Linked DNA regions of Homo sapiens: all the other regions are linked to region 4. The links are contacts of gene promoters, found by promoter capture Hi-C in blood cells and fetal thymus (Javierre and others, 2016). All regions are on one chromosome and are shown on one strand. Each heading gives the region's core, a stretch centred on a gene start or on the middle of the fragment in contact. The rest is flanking DNA. Distances are from core to core; before and after follow the strand shown. Region 1 has its middle 14 kb from the start of AKIRIN2. Region 2 overlaps AKIRIN2 (akirin 2). Region 3 overlaps AKIRIN2 (akirin 2). Region 4 holds the start of SNX14 (sorting nexin 14). Region 5 overlaps ORC3 (origin recognition complex subunit 3).

The links. The method cuts DNA at HindIII sites, captures the fragments that hold promoters and counts their contacts. A CHiCAGO score of 5 or more calls a contact.
Region 1: a fragment that was not itself captured here is called in contact with the fragment with the promoter of SNX14 in region 4 in 1 of 17 cell types (monocytes); the score reaches 5.4 in monocytes.
Region 2: a fragment that was not itself captured here is called in contact with the fragment with the promoter of SNX14 in region 4 in 9 of 17 cell types (non-activated CD4 T cells, naive CD8 T cells, M0 macrophages and 6 more); the score reaches 14.7 in non-activated CD4 T cells.
Region 3: a fragment that was not itself captured here is called in contact with the fragment with the promoter of SNX14 in region 4 in 3 of 17 cell types (total CD4 T cells, activated CD4 T cells and naive CD8 T cells); the score reaches 7.2 in total CD4 T cells.
Region 5: a fragment that was not itself captured here is called in contact with the fragment with the promoter of SNX14 in region 4 in 1 of 17 cell types (total B cells); the score reaches 5.6 in total B cells.

Annotation. Positions count from the first base shown.
Region 1 is chr6:87,714,632-87,717,430 of GRCh38, forward strand. No RefSeq gene overlaps it. Among named protein-coding and RNA genes, the nearest start is that of AKIRIN2, 14 kb to the left of the region's middle. The HindIII fragment of the contact is 6,779 bases long and covers 1-2,799 here.
Region 2 is chr6:87,695,993-87,698,692 of GRCh38, forward strand. All of the region lies in intron 1 of AKIRIN2 (akirin 2), which reads right to left. Among named protein-coding and RNA genes, the nearest start is that of AKIRIN2, 4.9 kb to the right of the region's middle. RefSeq lists an enhancer at 2,497-2,700. The HindIII fragment of the contact is 2,873 bases long and covers 1-2,700 here.
Region 3 is chr6:87,679,389-87,682,088 of GRCh38, forward strand. It overlaps AKIRIN2 (akirin 2), which reads right to left. Exons shown (of 5, transcript NM_018064.4): 2 at 2,232-2,375. Among named protein-coding and RNA genes, the nearest start is that of AKIRIN2, 21 kb to the right of the region's middle. The HindIII fragment of the contact is 6,659 bases long and covers 1-2,700 here.
Region 4 is chr6:85,592,564-85,595,263 of GRCh38, forward strand. SNX14 (sorting nexin 14) reads right to left here and starts at 1,295. Exons shown (of 29, transcript NM_153816.6): 1 at 1,016-1,295. The coding sequence starts at 1,155. RefSeq lists enhancers at 1-371, 372-955, 956-1,539, 988-1,157, 1,468-1,587 and a silencer at 1,218-1,437. The HindIII fragment of the contact is 2,215 bases long and covers 558-2,700 here.
Region 5 is chr6:87,606,255-87,608,954 of GRCh38, forward strand. It overlaps ORC3 (origin recognition complex subunit 3), which reads left to right. Exons shown (of 20, transcript NM_012381.4): 6 at 1,419-1,570. Among named protein-coding and RNA genes, the nearest start is that of ORC3, 17 kb to the left of the region's middle. The HindIII fragment of the contact is 186 bases long and covers 1,206-1,391 here.

The sequences.
Region 1 (2,799 bases), core at 140-2,639, 2.1 Mb after region 4:
ATTGTGCCAGGCATTGAGCTTAGTGCTTACATGCATGATCTCACTGTCTCCTAAGTGTGGGGTGATACAGGAAATGGCTTCAGGTAGTTGATGGTTTAGTGGCACATGGGCTAGGCAGAAATCAAATTGCATCACATATTGAGAAAGCCGTTCCTTCTTTAAGCCTCTGACTCCTAATTACACCTGGCAGAGAGTCTCCCTTTGGTGCAGGTCTTGAATGACTTTCTAACATCAACTTACTTCCTTTTGTTATAAAAAAAGAGTAGGCCTTAGGCTTAACACTTTCTCAGGCAACAAGTTCTTTAATTTTCATTGCACCTTCAATTTAGGGCAAGTAGTGTTGCATTTATAACAGTGATATAAAATTTCCTTTTAAAACATTTATTGAAGTTTAAAAAGTGAGCAACAGAAAAACACCAAGAGGATAATAGTATAGGTCTTACACGGACTTGGCAAATGTTATGACTAAGGAAGTTTGGAAAATACTACATTATCTTTCAAAAACTCAGTAAGGTAGGTACTATTCTCTATTTCTAGGTAGGAGATCTGGAATTTAGAAAAGTTCAGTAACCTTCCCAAGGCCACTCTGTAGGAAGTTGAGGAGCTGAGCTTCAAACCTGGAAGTGTCTGCTTCCAAAATCAGTGCCCTTGACCATGTATTGCCTCCTTAAGATGATGACTATGTATGTTTCCTGCCAGGACTAGCACTCCAGACTGCGTATATGTCATGATTTGAAAGAACAGTTATCAAACAGTTATTAAAGTGTGGTCCTTTCAGGCGGTCCTCTGGGTAAAGGTATTTTCACCAAATACTAAGATGTCATTTGTGTCTTTCACTCGTTTGCTCACCAGTGTATCGGGGAGTTTTCTAGAAGCTATGTGACATGTGATATATCACAACACATTGAGTACAGAACCACAGATGTGAATCCAACTGTCTTCTCTTATGCTGGACATTAAAAAGACTTGCAGAAACATACATGATGCCATTCTTCTCAGTAAATCTTTTTTGTTTGTTCATTTGTTTTGGAAAACACAGGTTTTTTTAAAGTCATTTTTGTTAACATGTCATGGGTTTATTGTTATTTTTAAATGAATTAGTAAATACTTGAAACATTTATCCATCTTAATTTCTAAAACAATAAACATCAATACAATATAGCCCACATAAACAAGTTTTTGGGGGTTGTCAAGAACATAAAGGGGACCAGGTGTGGTGACTCACCCCTATAATGCTAGTGCTTTGGGAGGCCAAGGCAGCAGGATAGCTTGAGCCCAGGAATTTAAGACCAGCTTGGGCAATATGGCAAAACCCTATTTCTACCCAAAGTACAAAAATTAGCTCTGCATGGTAGCACTCGCCTGTGGTCCCAGCTACTTGGGAGGATGCGGTGGGAGGATCACTGGAGCCCGGGATGTTGAGGCTGAGTGAGCTGTGATCATATCACTGCACTCCAGCATTAGTGACAGGGCAAGACCCTGTCTCAAATAAATAAATAAATAAGTAAATAAAAAGAATGTGGCTGGGCGCGATGTCTCATGCCTGTATTCCCAGCACTTTGGGAGGCCGAGATGGGTGGATCATTTGAGGTCAGGAGTTCAAGACCAGCCTGGCCAAGATGGTGAAACCCTGTCTCTACTAAAATTACAAAAATTAGCCAGTCGTGTTGGCAGGCACCTGTAATCCCAGCTACTCAGGAGGCTGAGGCAGGAGAATTGCTTGAACCTAGGAGGTGGAGGTGGCAGTGAGCCGAGATCGCACCACCGCACTCCAGACCGGGCAACAGAGCGATACTCCATCTCAAAAAAATAAAAAATAAAAAAGGCTGGGTGCGGTGGTTCACGCCTGTAATCCCAGCATTTTGGGAGGCCGAGGCAGGCGGATCACCTGAGGTCAGGAGTTCAAGACCAGACCGACCAACATGGAGAAACCCTATCTCTACTAAAAATACAAAATTAGCCGTGCGTGGTGGTGCCTGCCTGTAATCCCAGCTACTCAGGAGGCTGAGGCAGGAGAATCGCTTGAACCTGGGAAGCTGAGGTTGCAGTGAGCCAAGATCATGCCATTGGGCTCCAGCCTGGGCAACAAGAGCGAAACTCTGTCTCAAAAAAAAAAAAAAAAAAAAAAAGAGAGAATGTAAAGGGGTCTTGGGTACAAAGTTTCAGTTAGGAGAAATAAATGATAAGTATTTAAGGTGACAGATATGTTAATTAGCTTAATTCAGTCATTCCACATTATATACATATATGATAACATCACTGCGTACCCCATCATTATATAAAATTATAATTTGTCAAAGAAAATTATTTTATAATTTAAAATAAAAGAAAAAAGTGTAAAAAAGTCTTAAGATGAATATGTGATAGAATAATATTTTTAATAATTAATGGTAACTTTTTTCTCCCATATTTCCACCCTTCTTTTTCTCTCCCACTCCATTCCATTCAAGCATGTATTCCTTGCATCACATTCGAGCACGTGATTCATTGCTTCAGAAGAGGAACATTACCAAGTGGAAAGCAGAAATGGTTTCTAGCTTTTGTGTTTCCAAAAAGCCTAAACCTATTAAGCGAATTATGCCCAGTGCTTTGAGGCAGTAATAACAAAATGGAGCAAGTGCCACTGAGAAAAAATAGCAGCAGTATTGAGAGAGGGCAGCTTTCCCAGGACTAGAAAAATATTTCTAACTTCCTGAGAGTGGGTGTAGGGAAGAACAAAGACAAGAGGGAGATTAGGGGATCAAAAACGAGAGGACTGGGCTGAAGAGGCCAGGAAGACAGAAACCAGACACATCTCAG
Region 2 (2,700 bases), core at 37-2,536, 2.1 Mb after region 4:
ACATGGTGAAACCCCATCTCTACAAAAAAATACAAAAATTAGCTGGGCATGGTGGCACATGCCTGTATCTCCAGGTACTTGAGAGGCTGAGGCAGGGGGATCATTTGAGCCCAGGAGGCAGATTGCAGTGAGCCGAGATTGTGCTGCTGCACTCCAGCCTGGGACAGAGCAAGACTGTCTCAGAAAACAAAAACAAAACAAAGACCCGATTAGTATGTACTACATTCTTTTTCCAATAAAGCCATTAAAAAACTGAAGAAATTTATATTATTCTCCTTTACATCTCAGGTTATGTCTCCGTGGCAACCATAGTGAATAGTACCTTCCACACCTAAAGAGGGGCTAACCTCTAATCTAGCCATGTTTAGCCTATGTGTTGCTGTGCTCAAGTTAGGCTTTATTTTCCTACCTTAATAAAAAAGCCGGGAGCTGGGCGCAGTGGCTCACGTCTGTAATCCCAGCACTTTGGGAGGCTGAGACGGGCAGATCATGAGGCCAGAAGATCGAGACCATCCTGGCTAATACGGTGAAACCCCATCTCTACTAAAAATACAAAATATTAGCCAGGCATGGTGGCGGGCACCTGTAGTCCCAACTACTTGGTAGGCTGAGGCAGGAGAATGGCGTGAACCCGGGAGGCAGAGCTTGCAGTGAGCCGAGATTGTGCCACTGCACTCCAGCCTGGGGGACAGAGTGAGACTCCATCCAAAAAAAAAAAAAAAAAAGCCAGGGAGGCCAGGCGCGGTGGCTCACGCCTGTAATCCCAGCACTTTGGGAGGCTGAGGCAGGTGGATCATGAGGTGAGGAGTTCAAGACCAACCTGACCAACATGGTGAAACCCCATCTCTTCTAAAAATACAAAAATTAGCCGGGCGTGGTGGTGTGCGCCTGTAATCCCGGCTACTCAGGAGGCTGAGGCAGGAGAATCTCTTGAAACTAGGAGGTGGAGGTTGCAGTGAGCTGAGATTGCGCCACTGCACTCTAGCCTAGGCGACAGAGTGAGACTCCGTCTCAAAACAAACGAACAAAAAAAAAGCCGGCGGCACAGGCTCACACCTATAATCCCAGCACTGTGTGAGGCCAAGGCAGTTGGACCACCTGAAGTCAGGAGTTCAAGACCAGCCATGCCAACATGGTGAAACCCCATCTCTACTAAAAATACAAAACAAAATCAGCCAGGTGTGGTGGCGCACGCCTGTAATCCCAGCTACTCCAGAGGCTGAGGCTCGAGAATCGCTTGAACCCAGGAGATGGAGGTTGCAATGAGTTGAGATCATGCCACTGCACTCCAGCCTGAGTAAGACTTTGTCTCAAGAAAAAAAAAAAAAAAAAGCTCTATATTAGTAATGAATACAACTGCAGTTTTTAATGGCCATAAACTTACAGGATTCTTAAATGCATAAATCACAGAAATATGCAGTAACTGCAGCTACATACACAGTCCTAAATAGAATATCAGGTTTAAGACTCAAAGTACAAAGACCATTAAAAACATTTATTTGCCAAATCCAGTGAGAAACTAGGAGCAACTTAACAGCTGTCTAAATAACCACAAAATATTAAAAAATACTTCTGGCTCAATGTAAATGACATCTGAAGAGAGATGCTGCCTCCTCCAACAGACGTCTCATTTGTTCGCCTAGAACCATTTATATTTCATTGAAGCCAGCTGGTGTCTCCGTTTGCAGGCATGCATCAATGTCTGGTGAACAATCTATGTTCCTGTAAACCCTTCCCCATTCACAAGCTGCAGTTTCCATTTTTAATGGCAAGTTTCCAGCAAGTACAATGAGTTCTTACAAAGGAACTTAACTCTTCACAGAATTCAATTCCTAAGGCAGATTAATGGTACCAAGCCATAAACAATGTGAATTAATGTGCCTAACAAACTCACAAATACATTAACATTCACAGAAGGGTATCTTCAGACCATTCATTCACTACATAATGAAAACAATGTGCTGGATTTGATTGACGGTCTCTTATAATGTTGCAATATTTTGGTTTTATTAAAATTCTTTCTTGGGAATGTCATGACAATCTTTTGGCTAAATGGTAGTATTATGAGATGTTTCAAAAACCAATAGTAAAGCATACTTTGGTTTTCAACTAACTTACCAGGGTAAGTATTGATGCAGCTACTAGAGGCATTCATTTCACCAACGATATTCAATGCTTCTGCTCCCCCTCCCCTTACTTCCACTGATCACTTTTCCTTTTCCATACCCAGGGGTATTATAAACCTCACTGCTGACACCCCACATGAGGGTAAGCAAACTTTTTCTGTAAACACCAGAGAGCAAATATGGAGTTTTCGGGGCAATATACTGTGTGTGACAACTATTAAACTCTGCCATCGTCACCTGCAATGAACAATACTTAAAAAAAAAAAAAAAAGAATGAGCACAGCTGTGTTCCAATAAAATTTTATTTATGGACACTGAAATTTGAATTTCACATAATTCTCACGTGTCACAAAATAATTCTTTTGATTCTTTTCCAACCATTTAAAAAATGTAAAGAACATTCTTAGCTCTCAGGCTACACAAAAATATGGCTATACTTTGTCAACCATCCCTAGACCCTGAACAGCATTTCTGAATTAGTAACACTTAGGTGTCCTAAAAAACAGGTTTGGGATAGCTGTGTGTTAAGGAGTCCCTAAAAAATTCATAATGCCAATTAGCATAATAAAGGCTC
Region 3 (2,700 bases), core at 8-2,507, 2.1 Mb after region 4:
TGGCACGTGCCTGTAGTTCTAGCTACAGGCTAGGCTGAGGTGGAGGTTGCAGTGAGCCAAGATCTCACCACTGTACTCCAGCCTGGGCAACGGAGTGAGACCCTGTCTCAAAAACAAAACAAAACAAAACAAGACATTCTGAAATCTACTTTGCTGGAGAAGCATAAATGATTCTAAAGGTTTTTGAACTCATTGACCACTAATTCCCATTAAGTTAACAACAATTCGCATGGAAAAATAAGCTCAAGCATTGAGCTGATAATGCTATGCTCAAAACTCTATACCATAGAACTACACTGTCATCACACTAAGAATCCCAAAGCAGCTGCAACATCAGCATCTGTCAATTTCAAATATTCCTTCAGCATTTTTATACCTATTAGGATATTTTTAATAAAAGAGAAAATATTTTGTAGTAATAACATCTACTGTAATACTGCTAAAAGTATTTTATACATATTCAAGTGCACCATTCGTTACCAATTGTTTCTTCATCTCGCTCTGTGAATTTGCCCTGGTACCACCAATATTACTTACTCTCTTAACTTGCTCCTTATAACCTGCATGGCAGGAGCTAGTTAACTATGCTTATTAGAACTGTGCATACCACAATAACAAAGCCCACCAGCTTTATTCCATAATTATCCAAAGCCATCTTAATTTACTTTCACATTCCCAGCTTTGTTACTTAAGACTGCCAGTTAACTGATCTTCTAAGTAAAGTGAGTAAGGAAATAATGATCTTGGTTTCCTGCTAATACAGTCTAGTGCCCAACCCTCACCTCTATGTTTCAACCACTAATACCTGGCCCCCACAATGGGCATGGCAGTATTTAGTTTTGAACAAGTTCATGTTTCCTAATCTAATTTTATTTGACTATGTTATGGTCTTTGATTTTTTTTTTTTTTTTTTTTTTGAGTCTCATTCTGTCACCCAGGTTGGAGTGCAATGGCGCGATCTCTGCTCACTGCAAGCTCTGCCTCCCGGGTTCATGCCATTCTCCTACCTCAGTAGCTGAGACTACAGGCGCCTGCCACCATGCCTAGCTAATTTTTTGGATTTTAGTAGAGACGGGGTTTCACTGTGTTAGCCAGGATGTTCTCGATATCCTGACCTCGTGATAAACCTGCCTTGGCCTCCCAAAGTGCTGGGATTACAGGCATGAGCCACCGCGCCCAGCCGCAAATTTTTTTATTCTGCCAGGTTTTCCTTCCCTTGCTAGGGGGAGGAGAGAAAGCGTTGAACAAAGGCAACTGTTGTCACAAGAAAAGCTATTTTCCTGAGAACTTTACTAAAGATAAGAGCCACTATTGATGGCTCTCTCTCAGCAAAACCTTCAACTTTCTCTTTGCTTCAAGTAGCCCTTATTCCCCGCCCCCCCCCTTTTTTTTTTTTTTAAAAAAAAGGAAGGTTATTTGCAAACATTCCCCCCAACAAAAAGTAGGTAAAAACAGATACAGGATCAAAAAATAATAATAATCCACCTTTAGAAATCTAGCCCAATAAGACAAGTGTGTGAGGCAGGGTATGTATACAGGGATAGTTCTTAAAATACTATACCAGCAAAACTTCTAAGTTGAATTATCTATCATTAAGTGTTCAGTCATGACAAGGTACATCTATACCTAACAAAGGAGCATACAGTATTGTTATTATTTTTTTTTTTGAGACAAAGTCTCACTCTGTCGCCCAAGCTGGAGTGCAGTGGCATGATCTCAGCTCACTGCAACCTCCGCCTCCTGGGTTCAAGTGATTCTCATGCCTCAGGCTCCCGAGGGGCTGGGACTACAGGCGCGTGCCACCACGCCCAGCTAATTTTTCTATTTTCAGTAGAGACAGAGTTTTGCCATGTTGGCCAGGCTGGTCTCAAACTCCTGACCTCAAGTGACCTGTCTACCTCGCTCGGCCTCCCCAAGTGCTGGGATTACAGGCATGAGCCACCGTGCCTGGCCTATTGTTAATTTTTTTTAATAAAGGCTACAAATCATAGTACTTACAGGATGTCCACTTTGGGGATATTATATGCAGGTGGTTGTCTCTGGTTAGTGGGAATCCAGTGGTAACTCCTTATTTTGTACCATATTATTTTTTAAGATGTCATGCATTACTTGTATAAATGTTTTTTTAAAACTCAGAGGAGATACAGTAGCTTAAATGACTAAAGACAACTTGGATTAGACTTTTCCCACTCTAAATAATAAACTTTGTAAATGACAAGAAATGTTATTACCTGGTGAAGCTGGTCCACTGAGGAGAAATGCATGTGGCTGTGCATCAGAAGTACAACACGGATCTGTCTGTTGGAAACTCGTTTCTAAATGTCTTCTCTTCTGCATTCGTTTATACTCTTGTTTTATGTTGTACAGAATTTGTTCTAAAATAAAAAAGTTAAAATTTGGCAAGATAAAAACTTTCACATTAAAAAAGAGGTTGGCTTTCCAACATTATTTAGTAGACCAATCTACCCAAAATACTCCTTTCAAATAATATCCAGAAAACTGACATTTTGGTAGGAACTCATTTCAGCATAAATGGGGACATTCACTTAGCACATACACACCAACTGGAATTCAGCTGTTCAACAATATTCTTGCTGAGCACTGACTAGCAAAAATAAAGTTTTTCAGTCAAAATAATGGTCAAGGAGTCTGTGAACCAAAACACCTATTTTACTCAGATTCTTAAGAGTTCCAAACTTA
Region 4 (2,700 bases), core at 45-2,544:
ATGAAGTAAAACAAGTTTATTTCGGGGGCAGAATCTTCTGATTTCAAAATGTCAATTGAATTTATCAATTTTAACCTTTCGGAATATTTCAGGTTTTTTTGGGGAGGGTGGCATCAAGTCCTCTTAAGAATATTATAGGGATGTGGCCGGGTGCGGTGGCTCACGCCTGTAATCCCAGCACTTCGGGAGGCCGAGGCAGGCGGCTCACGAGGTCAGGAGATCGAGACCATCCTGGCTAAAACGGTGAAACCCCGTCTCTACTAAAAAAAAAAAAAAAAAATACAAAAAAATTAGCGTGGTAGCGTGGTGGCGTGGTGGCGGGCGCCTGTAGCCCCAGCTACTCGGGAGGCTGAGGCAGGAGAATGGCGTGAACCCGGGAGGAGGAGCTTGCGGTGAGCCGAGACCGCACCACTGCACTCCAGCCTGGGTGACAGAGCGAGACTCCGTCTCAAAAATAAAAAATTCTAAGGATGTTGGGACGGGTACCACTTTGCTTTCTGATTTCTGTCCAACAAATCTTTATGATCGTCTGTTTTATTCAACAATACTGCGGGAAAAGCTTCAGCTGCAAGCTGAGGGGGTGGGAGGTGGGGAGATGGAAGAACGCGCTGCAGGTGTGCGGATTCTGCCTAAAATTGCGGCTACGAACTGGACCTTGAACACTCCTCCGTCAGCTGACTTGACTGCCTGTGTACAGTCTCAATTTGAGCCGACACACGGATTTCACTTTTGAAAAGCAACGAAGATGAAGAACTCGTTTTGAGAAATGGATGAGAAAAAGGTAGCTCAGGAGACGAAGCCTCGGGAAAGGAGGCAATCAACCCCACCCCACCGGCCTGTGCTTCCGGCCTCGACGCTCCGCCGTGCTCCCCGAGGCCGCTCCTCTGCGGAGCTCGCTCTCCCCACTGGTCCCCAGTCCCGCAGCTACGCGGCCTCCGCACGGTTAAGCAGCACGGGCCGGGCGTCTGCACCTTCGGAGAAAAGCCGCCGCCCAGGCTCCGCGCTGCGGCGTTACCTGTTAAGAAGCAGGGAGGCGGCGCTGAGACAGAGCAGCAGGAAGCAGAACAGCGGGTACTGGCGGCAGATCTCGCGTCCCACGTCCAGTCGCAGCCGCTGCTTCAGCTTCTGCCCCATCGTCCGCACCCAGGGCACCATCTCCGTAACGGCGAGGCCGAGACTGCGCTACTGGCTGAGGCAGAGGTCAAGGCGACCCCCCATCCACACCTCGCGTCCCCGCCCCACCGACTTGGCGGCGCACACAGACGCCTACCGGCAGTTAGCCGCCGCAGGCTGAGGTCGCGTCCGGCTGGGCCCAGCCCCACGCCCCCCGCCGCGCGTGCGCGGCCGCGGTCCCCAGCCGACCAGAGGAACGGCCGTAGAACGTGCCCGAAGTCGTCACCCAGCGCAAAGCCTCTAGCGTCTCGCCGCTCCGCCCTCCTGGCCGGAGTAGCGCGCAGTCTTCCGTGGAAACTCTGACAACACTGGCGACCGGCCATTTCCGGAAATCAAAGGACAGCCCCAGCACCCAGTAACTGCCTGTATTGCGGAGGAGAGGGAAGAAGGTTGTAGGGAGCCCGGAAGAAACTACAGCACCCCCGTAGCCGCCGGGCGCTGCCTGAGGGGCAACCGGAGCTCGTGGAGCCCGCTGGGAACTGTAGTCTTCGTGACACGAACCCGCAGAGGGATGGAGCGGGTGGTAGCGCTTCCCCGACCCCGCAACGCTCCGCGCCTCACCGTACACTCGGCTCCGGGTGGGAGCAGGTCCGAGCTTTGCGTGACGCCTAAGGGAGAGGGGGATAGGAGGACGCCTTTGAGTCGGTATTTTAAAAGGGGTGTGTTGGGGGCTGGGGGGGTGGCGAGTAAAACAGCCCTAGAATAAAGACTACAACTCATCAGGCCGCCACCCCACCAACAAAATCTCTTTTGCGCGCTCACGGGCAAGGGTAGAGCTCAATTCACGCCGGCTCCGGGAGCCCAACCAAAATCCGAGTGCTTGGAAGAGGCAGGTTGGCAGATTAGGTAAAATCCCTCTTATAGAGTCTCATGGGGTTTTCCCTTTACTAATTCATCACATTTCTAAATTTTTTTTTCTGTATTGTCCGCTACAGTGAGAGATGCAGGAAGACTATTATCGCGAAAATTTACTTAGGCGGTACAGACACTAAGCACTTTCATTTGACCTTCATGCATTCACCCCATGGTGTAGGTACAGTACTATAGTTTCAATCATTATACAGGCAAATTACTGAGACAGAAAGGAACTTAGGATCATAAAACTAACAAAGCCGGAATTTGAACACGTTCTAAAGACAGAGCCTGTGCCTGTCATCTCTCTTTCCTAGGATCTTATCCTTCAAAGTGGGGAAACAAATGTTTTTTAATGATGTATGTAGTTTCATGAATATTTTCCCGTATTACAAAAACATGGATCTTTAATGATGCATTATTATCCTTTATCAGAATGTACCATCCTGTTCCATTATTGCTAACCACTAAAGTCCATTGATATTACCATCCTTGATGATAAACCTATGCACATTTCTAATTATTTAGAATCAACTTTAATACAATTACTGGGTCAAAGGGTAAAAACAAACATTCTTGATACAGTCAAACTGCTTTGTAGAATGGTGGTACCAACTCCACAGTGGTGTATAAAAGTAAACAATTTCACTGATCCTCACGATTAGCTATTATTGT
Region 5 (2,700 bases), core at 49-2,548, 2.0 Mb after region 4:
TAGCAGTCCAGGCATTTTGTGAGATGCATTCTTTAACCCAGTGAAACGTTTAATAAGTAGAAAGACTTAGGACAGAAAGCTGAGAATTGGGGAATGAGGAGCTCTTGTCAGCTCAAAAGAGAGTAGACCACATGGGCTCATGTTTCAGCCATAAATCATCTTATTGTCCCACTTTGAAAAGCCACCATGGTGAAAAATAGTCCACTGACAGAGGTAATCCTGAGCATGTGAACCCATGAAATCATAAAGAGTGTTCACACTAATATATTAAAAAGCTTTTTTTTTTTTTCTTTTGAGACAGGGTCTCACTCTGTTGCCTAGGCTGTACTACAGTAGCATGATCATAGCTCAGTGCAGCTTGAACTCCTGGCCTCAAGCAGTTCTCCCACTTCAGCTTCCCCAGTACCTAGGACTACAGGTGCATGCCATTACGCTCAGCTACATCAGCTACATTGTGGGGTTTTGTTGTTGTTGTTGTTTGTAGAGATTGGGTCTTGCTGTGTTGTCCAGACTGGTCTTGAACTCCTGGGCTCAAACAATCCTCCTGCCTTGGCTTCCCAAAGTGCTGGGATTACATCTTGAGTCACCATGCCTGGCCCTAATGTGGTAAAATTTGTTTGGATTAGATTGATAAAAGAGATTTATGTGCTTATATTGCTTTCATATTCATAAACTGATTGAAATTAAGTAAAAGCCCTTAAAGGCATCTTTAAAAATGGCTATATGAAAGATTTATAATCAGTAAAATAATTCATATGACACTTGATTTTTCTTAGGGAACTTGAAAACTGTTTATTTTCCTATGTAATTTAAATACATATTCCTAAAATTTATAGTTTGCATATCTACACATTTGCTTCTGTGACCTTTTTATTATAGATAATATACATAAATGGCTGGGAGCAGTGTTTGATGCTTGTAATCCCAGCACTTTGGGAGGCTGAGGCAGGCAGATCATGAGGTGAGGAGTTCGAGACCAGCCTGGCCAACATGGCAAAACCCCGTCTCTACTAAAAAATACAAAAATTAGCTGGGTATGGTGGCACGCGCCTGTAATCCCAGCTACTGGGGAGGCTTGAGGCAGGAGAATTGCTTGAACCCGGGAGGCAGAGGTTGTATTGAGCCGAGATCCTGCCACTGTACTCCAGCCTGGGCAACAGAGCGAGACTCCATCTCAAAAAAAAAAAATAAAGATAATATACATAAGCTTTGGTTTAGTCTTAGTCTGAATTAATGAAGGTACTAATGAGCATCAGTAGTTAATATGTTAAATGTTACATTAGCTGTATTGATGGTAAGTATAAAAAAACACATTCTACCAAAAAAAAAAGTAATACACTCAGCAAGAAGTTTCAAGAGCTTTGGTTTTATTTTTAGAAGAGGCAGAGATAAGCTTTCTTACTTTTTATATTCCACAGATATGAAACATTTTTTGCAAAAGTTGATCTCACAGTTGATGGACTGCTGTGTAGATATAAAATCCAAAGAGGAGGAAAGTGTTCACGTCACCCAAAGAAAGACACATTATTCAATGGATTCACTTTCCAGTTGGTATATGACTGTCACACAGGTAGATATAAACTGATGATTTTCTCCCAGGAAATTGACGTATGATTGATGTGGCTTGGAATAATATTAGACAGTACTGTTTTGATCTAACAAGGATATGTTTCTGCAGCACTAGGTGTTAATTTAAAAGTAGGTATTTATTTTTTCTAATGCTACTCGAATTTTAAAATGTTCTTTTATTAGTATGCAGCCTAATTCCAGGTAAGTGCTTAGGTTTTTACAAGGACATATTATTTGTTGGAGAATGTCCTCTAATGACAAAAACAGAGCATCAGGAATTGCTTCTGTTGCATGTTCCATCTCTGTGACAGTAACTATAACTTTAGTATATTATCTCTTATGTTCCTCAATGTTTGCTTTGTCCAATAGAACCATGCTGCTAGTATCCACTGTCAACTTAGTTCAATGAAGAATAATCATGTATTTTCTAAAGTCTAATTTGTTTTATGTTTAGAGTTCTTAGGGAATCAGTGTTCTTTAAGTAAAGTATGTTAGACAAACAGATAAGTAAAAAGAAGTTCCATTCTACCATGACAGTCTGGTGAAAAATAATAACCTAGGTTAACACTAGGTAATTGCGTCATAAAACCATAGTCTTAGGTTATGGTGCTGTGTAGCCAGACAGTATGGGAAAAAAAATACTGTGGTTACATTTTCCAATCAACATTTTTGCTGAAATCATCGTAAGTGAAGTTTCATTTTGCTTTATATAGGGACTAAACTACGTCTAATACTTACCATAATACCTGATTTGCTCCACAATTTTAGACTTTCCAGATAAAATGCTACTTTTGGTTTATGTCAGATATCTTTTTAAAAATTGAGATTGGACCAGATGATACCTAGTATCCATTTCAGGCTTGAAATTTCACAGTGGCAGAGTAGCAAGCACTACTATTCATTATATTTTTTTCATTAAAAATACTAGTTCTCACTATAAAGCAAAGCAGAATATAACTTTCTACCAACAGAAAAATCAATTTTGTAGAAAATTTCCTCTTCCATGTTTTTTTCTGTCATTTCCTTAGCAGAAAATATAAATATTTCATATGAGTTATAGATTTTTACTGAACCTTTTTCTTCTTGGTTATTATTCCCATGTCAGACACAGCAAGATTCTAGTAACCTGAG